2 separate regions of the Homo sapiens genome follow, and region 1 is linked to region 2. The links are contacts of gene promoters, found by promoter capture Hi-C in human tissues and cell types (Jung and others, 2019). All regions are on one chromosome and are shown on one strand. The core of a region is centred on a gene start or on the middle of the fragment in contact, and the rest is flanking DNA. Distances in the headings are between cores, read along the strand shown.

Region 1 (3,103 bases), core at 457-2,956, 45 kb before region 2:
TTGAACTAAATTATAATAATTACATATGAAAAATTGTGAAATGCTGCTAAATCAGTGCTTAGAAGAAACTTTATGTCTTTAAATGCTTATGTTAGAAAGATAAATATTTAAAACCAATAATTTAAGCTTCCACTTTAACAAGGTAGATCAGGAAAAGCAAGATGGACTCAGAGTAAATAGAACAGAGAAAATAACAAAGAATGGAAATCAATGAATATAAAGGAGAAAAACCAATAAAACAAAAATTAGTTTTTAAAAATTTGAAACAGGGTATTGTTCTGTCATTCAGGCTGGAGTGCAGTGATATGATCATGGCTCACTGCAGCCTCAACCTCTTGGGCTCAGGTGATCCTCCCATCTCAGCCTCCCAGGTAGCTGGAACTACAGGTATACACCACCATGCCTGGCTAATGTTTTAGATTTTTTGTAGAGTCAGGGTTTCACCATGTTGCCCAGGCTGGTCTTGGACTCCTAGGCTCAAGTGGTCTGGCCTTCCAAATTGCTGGGATTACAGGCAAAAAATTAGCTCTTTGAAAAAAATCAATAAAATTGATAAATTATCAGCTAAATTGACTTAAACCCAGACAAACACAAATTATCAATATCAATAAACAAAAGAAGAGGTATCACTACAAACCCTACAGATATTAAAAGAATTAAAAGGCAGTATTATGAACAACCTTATGCCAATACATTTGACAATTTAAATAAAATTTTTAAATTACTTGAAAGATGCTAATGACCAGAATGACATAAGAATTAATACAAATCTGAATAATCTTATATCTATAAAAGAAATTAAACTCATAATTGCTGTAGTTTGGTAGACTCAGCCATTCCAGTCTGCTGGTTTTGGAGAATATAAAGTCTGGATGAGGAAAAGTCCCTCACAAAGCAACACAGCCACCTTGCCAGACTGTGGTCAGACTGCTTCTTTAAGCGGGACCCCAGTTCATTCTTCCTCACTGGGTGCAACCTCTCTGTGGGAGCTTCAGCCACTCCAGCTAGGGTTCTACAGAAAAAGCTCTGATCTCTCCCTGGGATAGAGCCCCTGGGGGAGGTGCAGCTGCTGTCTTTGTGGTTTGGTTGACTCAGTCTTTTCCAGCCTATCGGCTTTGGAGAATACAAACAGTCTGGACAAGGAAGGGCTCCCCCCAGTGCAGCACACCTGCTCTATCAAAAAGCAGTCAGATTGCTTATTTATTTATTTATTTTTGAGACGGAGTCTCACTCTGTCCCCCAGGCTGGAGTGCAGTGGCATGATCTCGGCTCATTGCATGCTCCACCTCCCAGGTTCATGCCATTCTCCTGCCTCAGCCTCCCGAGTAGCTGGGACTACAGGCACCTGCCACCACACCTGGCTAATTTTTTTTTTTTGTTTTTTTTTAGTGGAGATGGGGTTTCACCATGTTAGCCAGGATGGTCTCGATCTCCTGACCTCGTGATCCACCTGCCTCGGCCTCCCAGGGTGTTGGATTACAGGCATGAGCCCACTGTGCCCGGCACAGATTGCTTATTTAAGTGGGTCCCTGATCCCATTCCTCCTGACTGGGTGAGACCTCCCAACAGGGGTCTCCAGACACCTCCTACCAGTGTGTTTGGGCCAGCAACAGGTCAGTACCCACCTGGGACAAAGTTTCCAGAGGAAGGAGCTGGCAGCCATCTTTGCTGTTTTGCAGCCTTCACTGGTGATACCTCCAAGTACTGGAAAAAACAAGGCAACTAGGGTCTGAAGTGGACCCCCAGCAAACCACAGAAGCCCTACAGTAGTGTAGCTTGACTGTTAAGAGAAAAACAAACAAGCAAACAAACAAACAGAAAACAACAGCAACAACATCAACAAAAAAGACCCCACAAGAAGTCTGTTCAAAGGTTAGCAACCTCAAAGATTCAAGGTTGATAAGCCCACAAAGATGAGGAAGAATCAATGCAAAGAAGCTGAAAACTCAAAAAGCCAGAGGGCCTTTTTTCCTCCAAATGACCACAACACTTTTCCAGCAAGGACACAAAACTGGGCTCAGGCTGAGATGGCTGAATTGACAGAAGTAGGCTTCAGATGATGGGTAATAATGAACCTCACTGAACTAAAAGAGCATGTTCTAACCCAATGCAAAGAAGCTAAGAATCATGATAAAACAATATAGGAGGCTGGGTGCAGTGGTTCATGCCTATAATCCCAGGACTTTGGAGGCTGAGGCAGGCAGATCATGAGGTCAGGAGTTTGAGACCAGACTGGCCAACATGATGAAAACTGTCTGTACCAAAAATACAAAAAAATTAGCTGGGCACAGTGGTGCTTGCCTGTAATCCCAGCTAATTGGGAGGCTGAGGCAGGAGAACCAGTGAACTCAGGAGGCAGTGGTTGCAGTGTGCTGAGATCAGGCCACTGCACTCCAGCCTGGGTGACAGAGCAAATCTCCACCTCTACAAAATACAAAATGAAACAATACAGGAGCTAATAGCCAGAATAGCCAGTTTAGAGCGGAACAAAACAGACCTGATGGAGCTGAAAACACAACATGAGAACATCACAATGTGTCACAAGTATCAGTAGCAGAATAGACCAAGTGGAGGAAAGAATCTCAGAGCTTCAAGACTATCTTGCTGAAATAAGACAGGCAGACAAGAATAGTAATAATCTCGGAGCTTGAAGACAATCTTTCTGAATAAGACAGGCAAAAAAGAATGAAAAGGAATGAACAAAACCTCAGAGAAATATGAGACTGTTTAAAAAGACCTAACCTATGACTGATTGGGGTACCTGAAAGAGATGGGGCAAATGGAGCCAAGTTGGAAAACATACTACAGAATATCATCCAGGAGAACTTCTGCAACCTAGCAAGACAGACCAACATTCAAATTCAGGAAATGCAGAAAACTCCAGTAAGATACTCCACGAGAAGATCAACCCCAAGACACATAATCCTCAGAGTCTCCAAGGTCTACATGAAAGAAAAAAATGTTAAGGGCAGCCAGAAAGAAAGGCTAGGTCACTTACAAAGGAAAACCCATCAGACTAACAGCAAACCTCTCAGTGGAAACCATACAAGCCAGAAGAGATTGAGGGCCAATATTCAACATTCTTAAAGAAAAGAATTTCCAA
Region 2 (3,162 bases), core at 90-2,589:
AAGAAGAAGAAGAAATCAGGTTTAGAGATGAGGACAAAGAAGACGAATGGTGGCATGAAGGAGCTAAGAGCTACTTGTCACCATGACATGAAGCTTCATGCCAGCAAATTAAAGGAGCTATTCAGAACTAGTATCCTCAACTCTACTTGCTCAGGGGCACTGACCTTATAGAGATTCCAGACATAAGCTTGTTCAGCCTTAAAGTCCAATCTTTCCACTGGCTTGGGTCCTTCCCACTTTCTGTGGCCAACTCTGAGGTTGTCTACAAGTTATTGGTCTTAGATTTATGTAATGTCTCAATGCCAGTGTAGTATTTGGTTATTTACGGTAGGAGTGGTTAGGGGTGGGGAATCTGATAATAGCTCGTAGGATAGCTAGATTCTTTTTTTTTTTTTTTTTTTTTAAAGATAGGGTCTCACTTTGTCTCCCAGGATGGATGGAGTGCAGTGGAGTGAACATGGCTCACTGCAGCCTCGACCTCCTGTGCTCAAGTGTTCCTCCTGCCTCAGCCCCTCAAGTAGCTGGGACTACAGGCACATGTCACCATGCCCAGCTAATTTTTTTTGTAGAGATGGGATTTTACCATGTTGCCCAGGCTGGTCTCGAGCTCCTGGGCTCAAGTGATCCACCAGACTCGGCCTCCCAAAATGCCGGGATTACAGGTGTGAGCCACTGTGCCTGGCCTAGATGCTTTCATACAGGCTTTTCAATTATGCATTTTCCTTAAGTAGGAAGTCTTAAGATCCAAGTTATATCGGATTGTTGTAGTCTACGTTCCCATATTCTATTCCTATTTCTGAGCCTTCAGTCATGAGCTACCATATTAAAGAACTAATTCTGGGCCTTGTTACATGGCTGGATTGGTTGGACAAGTGCCAGCTCTGATCCTGGGACTGTGGCATGTGATGACATACACCCCCTCTCCACATTCTGCATGTCTCTAGGGGGGAAGGGGGAAGCTCGGTATAGAACTTTATTGTATTTTCTGATTGCCTCACTTCTTATATTGCCCCCATGCCCTTCTTTGTTCCTCAAGTAACCAGAGACAGTGCTTCCCAGAACCAACCCTACAAGAAACAAAGGGCTAAACAAAGCCAAATGGGAAGCAGGATCATGGTTTGAACTCTTTCTGGCCAGAGAACAATACCTGCTATGGACTAGATACTGGGAGAGGGAAAGGAAAAGTAGGGTGAATTATGGAAGGAAGCTGGCAGGCTCAGCGTTTCTGTCTTGGCATGACCAGTCTCTCTTCATTCTCTTCCTAGATGTAGGGCTTGGTACCAGAGCCCCTGAGGCTTTCTGCATGAATATAAATAAATGAAACTGAGTGATGCTTCCATTTCAGGTTCTTGGGGGTAGCCAAAATGAGGTTCTTTGTCCCTCTGTTCCTGGTGGGCATCCTGTTCCCTGCCATCCTGGCCAAGCAATTCACAAAATGTGAGCTGTCCCAGCTGCTGAAAGACATAGATGGTTATGGAGGCATCGCTTTGCCTGAATGTGAGTTCCCTGCCTCTGTGTTTCATCCATTCCTCATACGCTTCTCTCCTCCATCCCCTCTTTCTTCCACTTCGCCCCTCCACTTTTACTTAATTATCTAATCATCCTCTTTTCTGCTCATTTGCATACTCTTTTATTTCATGTATGTATATATGTATGTATTTATTTATTTTTGAGGTGGAGTTTCGCTCTTGTTGCCCAGACTGGAGTGCAATGGTGTAATCTCGGCTCACTGCAACCTCCGCCTCCTCGGTTCAAGTGATTCTCCTGCCTCAGCCTCCCAAGTAGCTGGAATTACAGGCACCCACCACCATGCCTGGCTAATTTTGTATTTTTTGTAGAGACAGGGTTTCACCATGTTGGCCAGGCTGGTCTCAAACTTCTGACCTCAGGTGATCCGCCCTCCTCAGCCTCCCAAAGTGTTGGGATTACAAGCGTGAGCCATCATGCCTGGCCCCATTTATTTTCCTATCCTTTCTTTCTCTTATTGTCTGATTTTTTTTTGGAATTCTCCATCTCATCAAGAAACTCTGAGCTTTGCCATCTTTGGAGATTGGCTGGAAAGCATTTTTGTCTGAGAATTACAGTTCCTCCTTTATGCAGATCCTGTACATCTCTGTGGTATCTCTTTCTCATCTTTCCCTCAGTGATCTGTACCATGTTTCACACCAGTGGTTATGACACACAAGCCATAGTTGAAAACAATGAAAGCACGGAATATGGACTCTTCCAGATCAGTAATAAGCTTTGGTGCAAGAGCAGCCAGGTCCCTCAGTCAAGGAACATCTGTGACATCTCCTGTGACAGTGAGTAGCCCCTATAACCCTCTTTCTCTGTTTTTCTGAGGCCTGCCCTTGGGATAATCTCCTTTTTAGTGCCAAGCAGACCTCAGGCTTCATTGCCTTGGCTGGGCTCTATAAAAATTGTGGGACTTGAATTGGCAGTACTGAGTAAGAAGCTGTTTGGATTTTTCATGGTCATCAAATCCCCAGACAGTTCCTTGAGGTTCAGTGGTAGACAATCGGAGCTGTCTGAGAGTCTTGGAATCTGATTGTCTGCATTTTCAGGGTAAGTCAGTTGATGAAGCTGATGATTCCTCCAGAGATATCCCAGGGAAATGAAGGAAGTCCCTACCCAGGGTTAGACATTACCACATTGGTCCTTTCATATAGAAAGACAACAGGCACAAGCCTTGAGTTTAGAGAACCCACTGGATCCAGGGGTTAGGGGAACTCAGTGCCTTTCTGGGTAATACTTGTCAGCTGTCTCAATCCTTTCCCTGTAACTCCTGCCAGAGTTCCTGGATGATGACATTACTGATGACATAATGTGTGCCAAGAAGATCCTGGATATTAAAGGAATTGACTACTGGTGAATCCTTATTCTATTTTCTATTTCCCCATCCTCCTTCTCCTTACCCCATTAGCCCAGCACCCCTTTCCTCTTACCCTATCTCTTGGTCATTTAATCTAGAATACAGTGTCTGAAACAAAGCTTACCTAGAGACTCAGGTTTCTGTTATTAAGCCTCTCTCGCTCCGCTCCTTGGTAGCAATTTTCCTAATAAGGGGTTGCCTAATGGAGGGCTCAGACCCAGGCCTCCTTTCACTTAGACTTGGACATCTAATTCCACTTGTTTAGTTCTATGCCCTAAAGCAAGCTGTTG

The links. Contacts are between HindIII fragments. The study calls those that stand out against the background at their distance.
Region 1: a fragment that was not itself captured here is called in contact with the fragment with the promoter of LALBA in region 2 in 2 of the 25 tissues and cell types used here (H1 embryonic stem cells and stomach).

What each region holds. Positions count from the first base shown.
Region 1 is chr12:48,613,865-48,616,967 of GRCh38, reverse strand. No RefSeq gene overlaps it. Among named protein-coding and RNA genes, the nearest start is that of SNORA2C, 39 kb to the left of the region's middle. The HindIII fragment of the contact is 5,812 bases long and covers 1-3,103 here.
Region 2 is chr12:48,568,223-48,571,384 of GRCh38, reverse strand. It overlaps LALBA (lactalbumin alpha), which reads left to right and starts at 1,339. Exons shown (of 4, transcript NM_002289.3): 1 at 1,339-1,497; 2 at 2,145-2,303; 3 at 2,793-2,868. The coding sequence starts at 1,365. The HindIII fragment of the contact is 2,890 bases long and covers 1-2,617 here.